Regions from separate parts of the Homo sapiens genome. Here regions 2, 3 and 4 are each linked to region 1. The links are contacts of gene promoters, found by promoter capture Hi-C in blood cells and fetal thymus (Javierre and others, 2016). All regions are on one chromosome and are shown on one strand. Each heading gives the region's core, a stretch centred on a gene start or on the middle of the fragment in contact. The rest is flanking DNA. Distances are from core to core; before and after follow the strand shown.

What was found. The method cuts DNA at HindIII sites, captures the fragments that hold promoters and counts their contacts. A CHiCAGO score of 5 or more calls a contact.
Region 2: a contact is called between a fragment that was not itself captured here and the fragment with the promoter of MAGEL2 in region 1, in 2 of 17 cell types (M0 macrophages and endothelial precursors). The highest score is 11.9, in M0 macrophages.
Region 3: a contact is called between a fragment that was not itself captured here and the fragment with the promoter of MAGEL2 in region 1, in 1 of 17 cell types (M0 macrophages). The highest score is 5.5, in M0 macrophages.
Region 4: a contact is called between a fragment that was not itself captured here and the fragment with the promoter of MAGEL2 in region 1, in 1 of 17 cell types (M2 macrophages). The highest score is 8.0, in M2 macrophages.

Annotation. Positions count from the first base shown.
Region 1 is chr15:23,646,481-23,649,208 of GRCh38, reverse strand. MAGEL2 (MAGE family member L2) reads left to right here and starts at 1,342. Exons shown (of 1, transcript NM_019066.5): 1 at 1,342-2,728. The coding sequence starts at 1,467. RefSeq lists an enhancer at 2,055-2,728. The HindIII fragment of the contact is 5,160 bases long and covers 202-2,728 here.
Region 2 is chr15:25,448,193-25,450,920 of GRCh38, reverse strand. No RefSeq gene overlaps it. Among named protein-coding and RNA genes, the nearest start is that of UBE3A, 11 kb to the right of the region's middle. The HindIII fragment of the contact is 2,464 bases long and covers 81-2,544 here.
Region 3 is chr15:25,278,349-25,281,076 of GRCh38, reverse strand. It overlaps SNHG14 (small nucleolar RNA host gene 14), which reads right to left. Exons shown (of 148, transcript NR_146177.1): 146 at 2,193-2,230. SNORD109B (small nucleolar RNA, C/D box 109B) reads right to left here; the gene lies at 2,668-2,728. Among named protein-coding and RNA genes, the nearest start is that of SNORD109B, 1.4 kb to the right of the region's middle. The HindIII fragment of the contact is 1,377 bases long and covers 730-2,106 here.
Region 4 is chr15:24,773,812-24,776,539 of GRCh38, reverse strand. No RefSeq gene overlaps it. Among named protein-coding and RNA genes, the nearest start is that of SNHG14, 48 kb to the left of the region's middle. RefSeq lists an enhancer at 2,477-2,728. The HindIII fragment of the contact is 5,845 bases long and covers 1-2,728 here.

The DNA.
Region 1 (2,728 bases), core at 93-2,592:
CCTTCTCTTGGGTCCATAAATTACCAAATTTGAGGACCCCTGGCTAAGGGTACCTGGGAAGGAGTGGGGTGTACCCTTCATCGTCCTCATCTGCCCCCTGGTGGCACGTTTTGTCACTCTGGACTCCTGCCGTAGGCTGCCAACAGCCTATTTAAACGAAACATCCTTGATATTTAGTGCTTTGTATATTTCCAGAAAGCTTTTCAATTACTGAGATTATCACTTCCTCTCACCATAAAGTTGTATAGCATTGCCCAATAATACTATTGTCATCTGCTTTATCTGTTAATACTTGATTTGTCTCATATTTAAACTGATTTTTGTCACGAGAAGTTTCCCCAGAAATTTTTTTATTCTTTGCCTGTTTTTCCTATATATCCAAATATATCAATTTTTGATCTATTTATATACCCATTTTGTTATCTTCAGGTGCGTTATTTGGTTTTCATTTTTTAAATTTCTTTCCCATTCTGCAGATGAAAAATACTGAGAAACCTACTCTGTTCCTGCATCCGAGCCATTCCACAGGCAGTTTTCCCATACTAAAAATGCTGTCTTCCACTGATGTGTGGCATGTCTCAGTTCCGTGACTTCTTTTCCTCTCTCTCTACTCGCTGCTGTCCCTTTTCTCCATGTGTCTCTAACATGCCTGTGTTCTTCAAGACCCAGTGCAACCACATTCCCTCCCACAACTCTATTTTCATGAGGAATAGCCAAGCAGGACTCCCAAGACATCATACAGGAGTGCCTACAGGGTATCTCTCCTTGGCAGTCCCACAGCACCGCAAATGCCCTGTGTCTGCCAATACTCATCAGCCTCTCTTCCCGTGTGCCTCTCCTGGGACCCTAAGAGAGTAACAGTCCCTGCAACTTCCCACTTTCTCCAGGCAGGGACTTGTGTGCCTTTTCCATGTCTTTGACTCCTTTATTCAATTATAATACAGGTATCTGTCTGCTATAACTCCTGGAACTCTCTTATGTAAATGCGCTTTTTTCATTCTCCGCCTCACATCTTAGCCCAGACCACACCATCTCCCCCCGCCGTCTTGGATACCTTCCATGTTTCCAGTGGTCTGCTCCCACTCCACACTGCAGTACAGTGATTTTTCTAAAACATGGATGGGTTCCTGTCACTCCCCTGTGAAAAGTCATCCATGTGGAGTCTGACTGGTCTGCATTTGGGGACTGGACAGAGTGAGAAGGGATCCTGTGTCAGCCAGGACTCCGGTAGACGCCCCTATGCAATATCCACTTGTGGTGGTCGGGGGCGGGGAAGGGGCGGGATTGAGCCCCCTTCCCCCCTCCTCCTTACTGCGGAAAGCTGCGGAGCGAGCAGCACTCACTTCCTATTCAGCATTCAGCAGGGAGGGAGCCTCTGAACAGCCACGTAGGCATTCTCTTCTCTCTGGAGGAAAAGGCCCAGCAGCTGTCCGAGGAAAAGACCCACCAGCTGTCAGCAAAGGGACATGTCGCAGCTAAGTAAGAATCTGGGTGACTCGAGTCCTCCGGCGGAGGCCCCGAAGCCGCCTGTCTATAGCCGCCCTACGGTTCTGATGCGGGCCCCGCCCGCTTCCTCCCGGGCTCCGCCAGTCCCTTGGGATCCACCTCCAATTGACTTGCAGGCTTCATTGGCCGCTTGGCAGGCACCTCAGCCTGCCTGGGAGGCCCCACAGGGCCAGCTGCCCGCCCCGGTGGTTCCGATGACCCAGCCTCCTGCCCTAGGGGGCCCGATAGTCCCGGCTCCCCCGCTGGGGGGCCCGATGGGTAAGCCTCCGACTCCCGGGGTCCTGATGGTGCATCCTCCACCTCCGGGAGCCCCGATGGCCCAGCCTCCGACCCCGGGAGTCCTGATGGTGCATCCTTCAGCTCCCGGAGCTCCCATGGCCCATCCTCCTCCTCCGGGGACCCCAATGTCCCACCCTCCCCCTCCGGGGACCCCAATGGCCCATCCTCCTCCTCCGGGGACCCCGATGGCCCATCCTCCTCCTCCGGGGACCCCGATGGTGCATCCTCCTCCTCCGGGGACCCCGATGGCTCATCCTCCCCCTCCGGGGACACCGATGGCTCATCCTCCCCCTCCGGGGACACCGATGGCTCATCCTCCACCTCCGGGGACACCGATGGCTCATCCTCCCCCTCCGGGTACACCGATGGCCCAGCCTCCAGCTCCGGGAGTCCTGATGGCCCAGCCTCTGACTCCGGGAGTCCTGATGGTCCAGCCTGCTGCTCCGGGAGCACCGATGGTCCAGCCGCCTCCAGCAGCCATGATGACCCAGCCTCAGCCTTCAGGAGCACCGATGGCCAAGCCTCCAGGTCCAGGAGTCCTGATGATTCATCCTCCAGGTGCGAGAGCTCCGATGACCCAGCCTCCAGCTTCAGGAGCACCGATGGCACAGCCGGCGGCCCCACCTGCACAGCCGATGGCCCCACCTGCACAGCCGATGGCTTCTTGGGCCCCGCAGGCTCAGCCTCTGATCCTGCAAATCCAGTCTCAAGTTATAAGGGCTCCTCCGCAGGTTCCCCAGGGCCCGCAGGCACCCCCAGCGCAGCTAGCCACACCCCCGGGCTGGCAGGCGACCTCGCCAGGATGGCAGGCCACGCAGCAAGGCTGGCAGGCCACTCCCCTGACTTGGCAGACCACGCAGGTCACCTGGCAGGCACCAGCCGTTACCTGGCAGGTGCCGCCGCCCATGCGCCAGGGGCCCCCGCCCATCCGCCCTGGCCCACC
Region 2 (2,728 bases), core at 63-2,562, 1.8 Mb before region 1:
ACTCTGTGTCTATGAACTGACTGAGGTTTGGGATTTGGCAAGGGGCTGTGAATCTCTATTGAGGTGGCTTAAGTCAAGCTTTGGTTTACTCAGAACTAGAATTGTACTTATCTAAAAGGACACAGTAAACTGATTACCTATTTCAGTCCTTGGGACTTCATGACCAATTCACCTGTCAAAGATCCCTGTAGGCTAAACTATTCAGATTGCTACTCTAGCTCTTTTGTGCAAGATTTCACCTCCTAAATTAGACTGCACGTGGCCTGCTTAATGACTTGAACCACAATCTCTTAAATCAAAGTCTTTCCTTCAAAAGCTACTTTAGTCCAGCTGACTACAAAAGATCATTTAACTGTTTGGTCACTGTGTGCCATGGACCACTGTCCCACTGCCAGCACTACTTAGATACTTACTGTTTTCAAATCCATTTCAGACACTAGTCCCAGATTTCTATTTCTTTAAGGATCTTTTGTCATCAATTCTGTGTCAATAATACTTGTTGGTTGGAGACAACAGAATCCATAGTAACTAGTCTAGGCAGGCATGTCAGATGATCCTAGATGACCCTTATGCTCAAGTATTTGCCGGAAGGACTCACAGGACTCAGAAAAGCTCTTACACTCATGGTTATAGTTCATTACAGCAAATGGATACAGATTAAAATCAGCAAAGGGAAAAGGTACATGGGATGAAATCCAGGAGAAACTAGGTCCAGGCTTCCAGATATCTTCTCTGCTGGAGTCACATGGAGATACACTTAATTGTCTCTGCAATAATGTGTAACACATATGAAGTAGCTTCCTGGTTGGCAAGACTTCATAAATTTTGCCATTATTTGAAGATAACCCACACCTTGGTGTCCAGGGTTTTCACAGGTATTAGTGGTCAGTCACATAGGCATATAGTACCTGTATGACTTCTATTCCAGCCACCGCAAACTTCTCCTCTCCCTGCTGGCTCCTGAGCCAAAAACAGGCATTTACCATAAATCACTTTGTTAGGATGAACTTATCTGGCCAAACTGATACAGCATGACCCACAGCCTCAGGTATATAAAACACTCTCATCAGGCAGAATGTTTCAGGGTCTCAGAGGTTAGTCAGGGGCTAGTCAAGGACCAATCCTGAAGGCAGGCCTTTTTTTTTTTTTTTTTTTTTTTTTGAGACGGGGTCTTGCTCTGTCGCCCAGGCTGGAGTGCAGTGGCATGATCTCAGCTCACTGCAAGCTCTGCCTCCCAGGTTCACGCCATTCTCCTGCCTCAGCCTCCTGAGTAGCTGGGACTACAGGCACCCGCCACCATGCCCAGCTAATTTTTTGTATTTTTAGTAGAGACTGGGTTTCACCGTATTAGCCAGGATGGTCTCGATCTCCTGACCTGGTGTTCCACCTGCCTCAGCCTCCCAAAGTGCTGGGATTACAGGCGTGAGCCACCATGCCCAGCCAAGGCAGGCCTTTTTTTGGAACCTACAGGGTTTGACCAACCCAGGACTGCTGAGTTAACCCTTTCCTGTGCAGCAAGAAAAGATTTATTTAAAAAAAAAATGGAAAATCACAGTTTAATCAGAAGGGATGAAAAGACAGCTTCTAGCTTGTATTTCTGAGAACATTTCCCAGAACCATATCATAAAACTGGCCTGCTAAGGAAGATGTCTCTGCTAACCCAGAACAAGGTTAAATTGCATGTGGTTTATGGTTATATATGGGAATGCCCTGGTTCTTATGGAAAAGATACAGGGATAAAGTGTTACAAAGTCTGTAACTTATGACAAATGGGTCCATAGCTGGAGATAACAGATAAATGGATAGATAGAACAAATATGGCCAGATATAAACTACCAGGACATCTAGCTAAAGAAAATATGGTTATTGATTATACTATGCTCTAAACTTTTCTTTAGATTTAAAAAATGACCAAGAAATAAGGAAGTACAAAAAACTATGGCATGTTTCATATGAGAAGTGTTTGACATAAAAGGGAAATTGGGAGGCTGGGTGTGGGGCTCACGCCTGTAATCTTAGCACTTTGGGAGGCTGAAGTGGGAGGATCGCTTGAGCCCAGGAGTTCAAGACCAGTCTGGGTAACATAGTGAAACCTAATCTCTACTTAAATATATATATATAAAATAAATTGAAAAAAAGAGAGAAATAGGAAAAAAGCTACTGAGAACTAGATAGTAGGTTTAGTAGGTTTGAAAGTCATGAAGAAGTTCAGACTGAAGGACTTCTAGATGTGAGGAGATTACAATCAGGTAATAAAATATAGTACAGTTGACACTTGGCACACATAGAAATGCCACAGAAATATGGAAAAAAAGGAAAATATGATTGCCTTTGGGTGTTAACCTGTTGGCTTATTCACATATGGACCAAAGCAGAGTTTGTTATAAGTCACTTAAAAAAAAGAGAAATGGCTTCCAGGCCTGCAAGATATAATGGAAGCCTGACATTTCTAAAGAAAAGGGCTAGTCATCAATGAAAACACTGGATAAAATCAGACTAGGAAAGTCTGGCTGTAACTTCCTAGGGGATATTTGCCCAAAAGCTTCAACATACTCTCATTCCCGTCAATGATGCTTCACGGAAGTTGAATGTATCAGGTATCAATTGTCCAGTTCTTTCAGTTCCTGTTCTGTCACTTCCCTTTGTCTAGATTTCAAGCTTCCTAAGAAGCTTCTGTTATGTGGGGACCCTGTGTGTCTTCTTACAGGGAAAAAATGCTCTGGTCACC
Region 3 (2,728 bases), core at 169-2,668, 1.6 Mb before region 1:
AGAATCTATATTAAATAATAAAATATATTTTATGTTTAAATAATAAAATATATTTTATGTTGTATAAATATATACATAAATATATATCTGTTGTATAAATATAGATGTTGTATAAATTATATCTATGTTGTGTGTATATATACAATGTAGATAACTTTACCTTGACATTCTAATACATTACTGAAATAATGGTAACCTGAATATTTCATGATTTGACTATAACTCATTAAAGAAATCACATGGACCTAATTTTCAAGCATTACTCATTCTGGGAATGCTCTACAGAAACAGAGGCATGAGTGCATAAAAACTGGCATATTCCGATTATAAATGTATGGTATCTTGCAGTAGCAAAATGTTGATAACCATTATTCTGAAAACAAGAAATGGCTAAGGAAAATGTGGTGTCCTTCACATTCACTGAGGACACTGGCACATCTATAGTTTTTGACATAGAGACCTCAAGACCTATAGGACCTCAGGAGATTGTACAACATATATTACTACCAAAATGTCAAATCTAAAGCTCATTTACAGTAAAGTTAATTGGTTATGATCAATACATCTTATATAGAAAGATAAATGGATTGATAGATACTTGTATTAGCATAGAAAGTTTTTCCCTAATATAGGGCAGATGATTAAACATATTTCCTCTGGAAAGCATGGGGAAAAGGTTAAAAATACATCTGTCATAAATAATTTTATATTCTTCTATATTGTTAAGCTTTCTTAAAATGAAGTGATTACTCTTGGCAGTAATTTATGGCTGAAACTCTTTGATCTCAGACTAAAAAAGGGAAAATCAGGGAAGCAGGATTAAAAGTTGAAACACATTTTAGCTTTAGTATGTCGAGAACTCAAAAGGTGAAAAGCACTTAAATTTATCAGTTGTGTATTGACTAAGTAATCTCCAAGGAAATCCTTAAGCAAGGAGTTCACTGTTCTGACTTTTGGCTTTATACTTTACCCAACTTCATCAATATTTCCCCAAATTCTAAACTGTACAATGCATGTGGGCCTCTATTAAGATCTATGAGAAACTTCTTTGCATGTGGTGTAGAAATAATCACACTAAATCTTAACAACTATATTTGCTTGTATATTCAATTATGTAGCACATAGAATAGAAAAGCATGAAGGTATCACATTAATTCCCTCTCTGCAAAACAAGAGACATGTGCCAGTTCAAGTGATCTGTCAAAGAAAGTATAAAGAATTGAGTACCAAAATACATGAATATGTGGGGACAATACTGCAATCCTTAAGACTTGAGATTGTTCAGCATGTTTTTATAACAGAGAAAAAAGTATAAGAGAATTTAAGAATATACATAGAAAAAATATAAATGTGTTAAAATAAAAATACTTGAGTAACTACTCATGACATGATTTGCTAAAAAGCCCTGTGCTAAAGAGAGAACCCACTTGATCTATTATGAGGGCATCAATCAACAAGCACCATGTAATACACAATCTACTTGAGACTTTTTTTATGTATTAACCAATATTTTGACTAGTTCGATAAGTTTTTTTTACTTTCTATCGAAGAATAATATACATGTAGAAAAGTGCATACACTAAAATTGTAAAGCTCAATGTATTTGCATGATGCAATCACAGCAAGTACTCAACACACAGATCAAGAAATAAAAATTACATGCATTCTAGAAACCAGCCAGGTGTCTTATATCTATGATTATCTCAGACATGCCATCAAGAGAAGAAAATTTCCTATATAACTTACCTTGTTGCAACAATGAGGAAAAGACTAATTCAAGTCAATATTTAATAATTAAATTAGAAGCAGAAATATAATGTAGTATGACCACAAAGATATTATGAACCATGGAGTCTCTATTCTGAAACCCCAATAATTAAACAGATGGGGAAAATCTGTTAATATTTTGGCACACCTGGATTTCACTACAATACATTTTGATCCAATATGAAATTGCCAAAAATTCTCTTAAATTCTACATTTTTCCATAAAAGCAAAAGAGAGTTAAAATTAAAAGAGAAATGATAAGGATTCAATAGTGTAGGTGACATGGTGAGGGTCTCAATGAGGAAAAGGACATATCATGAAAATGTCCTCCAATAAGCTTCTGAAAAGATGTACAAAACGACCTAAAGACCTAGCAAAGAGCACATGACATATGAATTTCAAAAGATAATGGCTTAGCTACTCACCCCTGTTCTCTGAAGTGGAGGATCAGATTCCAGGCCTTCTATCTCAGCAAAACATGAAAGAAAAAAAAAGCAAAAATAATCTTAGAAAATACTCCACAGTAAAAATAACAAAGCAATAAACTTGGTTCCACTGTCATTATTTAATAGAGGCATGCCATATTTCCTTCTTTCAGCACAACACTAATGAGATTTTCAGACATATCACAGTTGCTTGACCCTTAATTCAATCTTCTAAAGTTTTTCATTTGTTACTTAAGAAATATTTCCTATATGTAAGTATCTATCTACAATTAAAGCAAGTCTTGGGTCACTAGGCACACTAAAGTGCACACTGACTCATAAGACAGGATGCCACTGCCCTCTTCGAAGAGATAGAAAAGGCACGCTCACAGGGGTACTATGTTGTCACTGAGGGATCCCCAAATAGAGCCAGGCTCTGAGAGTCTTATTTGTCCTATTGGAGGGCCGCACATCTGGACCTCAGATTGACATCTGGAATGAGTCCCTCAGCATCCTCAGACAATTATTCTCATCAT
Region 4 (2,728 bases), core at 99-2,598, 1.1 Mb before region 1:
CCCAGCCTGATCTTGAACTCCTGGGCTTAAGCAATTCTCCTGCCTCAGCCTGCCAAAGGATTGGGATTACAGGCATGAACCACTGTGCCTAGCCTTACCTTACTTAATAGTATATTGTACAGTTTTTCTTGTCATCAAATTTAGACATGTTTAATTTATGCATGTCCCCAGTCTAATCATGAGAAGACATGAGACAAATCCATATTGTGGGACACCCCACAAAATTCCTGATCAGTTCTTTTCAAAAGGGTCAAAGTCATGCAAAATAGACTGAGAAACTACTGCAGATTGGAAAAGACCCGATGTGACAGGTAGACCATAAGATGGTGCTCAATGAACCCTACCTGTTGTTTTACAAAACCCTGTAGTATAATCTGCCACGCCTGACAGTGGACAGGATATGGGATGTACTTGAAACACAGACTATTACAAAGGTAATGGGATGTTACTTGAGTGAAATAATACAAATTTCTTCCTCCCAGACCTTGCATATTTTTCTGGAATTGTAACGCATGTTATGCTCTGAGACACCAAAAACAATCATGAGGCTTGTAGGAGAATACCAAAGAACATAAGGAGACATGTAGACTAGGCTCAGCTGTGTGAACAAGTGTATGTACATGGAGAAACATCTACACTGGATTAACACCCAGTCCCACAGTGCTCTTCCCTTTTTACTCCTATAATTTACAAACAGTAGCTCCCAGAATTCCTTGAAATCCACTGCCCCTTTCTCATGCCCTGGCCTGTGCCATGGACAGTCTTTTTCCTCTTCTAATTCCCCTCCTCTGCTTGGTCAAAAACCGTTCCTCAATCTTCAGAATCTCCTCCAATGTTCCTCATCCTAGAGGCCTTCCTTGTCCATCCCATTACAGGTCTCATGCCTGTCCTCTCAGTTCCCAGGGGCACGCTTCCACTTACAGTTTGGATTTTGTTAAGTTTTCTGAATTCCCACTGGACTGAAATCAGAGGACATAAATTTTAAAAATATTTTCCCCTGTGAGCCCAACACATGCAGTGGCCAAAAAGCAACACAGATTATTTTAATATTGAATTTTACATATGAATGAATCTCTCAAACTCTTTACTATATTCTTGTCTTTTCCCCAATTAACTCTATCTTTCAATCTGAAGAGGATTTGAACTTGAAAATGAACATTTTTTTTTTGCTCCTTTCTGTTCTCAGAACAGGTGTAAACCCTGCTGTCTCCCTGACTCTTCTTGTCTCCCCATTCTCAAGCCATTGTAGAGACCCTCTTATGGATCACGCTATTTCTACCTCATATGCTCCTTTTCTCTCCTGGAAAGTTTTGCCCCTTTGATCAAGGAAGATGTTCTTGTTCTGTAAGATGTAGCTCTACTAATATGGCTCCCTTAATAAATATTTCCATATCCTTCTTACTTATCATATTTCACTTTTTTGTATTATTTTCTGTCAAATGTTACAATTCTGTTAGCCTTCTTGCAGCCATGGCATAGTTTTCATTGTCTGCACATGGATGAACTTGTTTTGAAACCTTCTGCTATTTCCTTCTGTAATGTCACCTGCAGCAAAACATGCACAAAGGTGTCAGCAGGACAGGTTGAAATCACAGAGTAGTGCAGCCTCATTTACTAAGGAATGCCTCATTGCCATCTCTCTTCATGGCACAGACGGTGGAAGACATCCATGACTTCTGATTCAAAATCCAATTCAGATCAGAATTAGTTTCAAAATATTGCGAATTCATTTATGAATTACTTTTACTTTCAAGTTCATATGTACAAAATCAGACTATTATGTGTATAGCAGTTTGAGATATATGTATTTCCATTTAGATCCACCTTAAATCTTTGTTTCATTGACTTCCAGTAGGTAGCCCTCATTTAGACTCCTACAGGTACTGTACAAGGCCAATTCTGACCTCCGGTTCTAGGAACTTACAACTATATCCAGGTCCTGGTACCAGAATGGCGATCAACTCTGCCGTAATGGGAGATGAAAGGGAGCTGGAAATGGGTGTTTACAGTGTGCCGTTCATGGGATACTTCTTTTACGTGGCCAATGCCCTAAGCCATAACTGTCTGACCCATAACCAAGTGTCTGTCTAACAGGAAATGTGTTTAGAACGGCAGACGCCCTTGTGGCTCTTGTCTGACCTATGACTTGTTTCTTCCTAGGTGATCATCTCTCTGGCACTGGGAACCAGATCTTGTGTTCTCCCAGTGTCCTAGGAAAAATCAGGCCTTGGGTAACCCCCGGTTCTTCAAATGGAAGGCACAAATTTAATAAGCCGATTAGTAAAAGAATTTTGGGATTGAATTATCAGTTGTAAAGTGATGGATAGAGTGATGAAGTAAGGGAAGTCAGGATACAGAGAAAAGCATATAGCTGAGAAACTTCTTTCAACCTTGTACAACTTTTTGTTAAAATAAAAAATGGTATTTTATAATGGATATAGAGGCATTGGGGGAAAGTTTGACCTTGAAGCCCCCACAATACCTCTCGTAAAACAGGTGCTTAGTTGGAAAAGATAAAAGAGAGTCAATCGAGAATCTTAGGGAAAATACAAACATGATTAAAGAAGTATCCCTTAAAAAATGACAGTAATTTCAAAATTATTGAAAAATAATTCAATTTTTCAGACGAATGCAGAAAAAAGAGAAATGAAAATTAATATTTAAAAGAAAGGGTATAAAATCATGGTCTGTGCAACGTTTATGAAAAGACAGTGTTGCATAAACACTA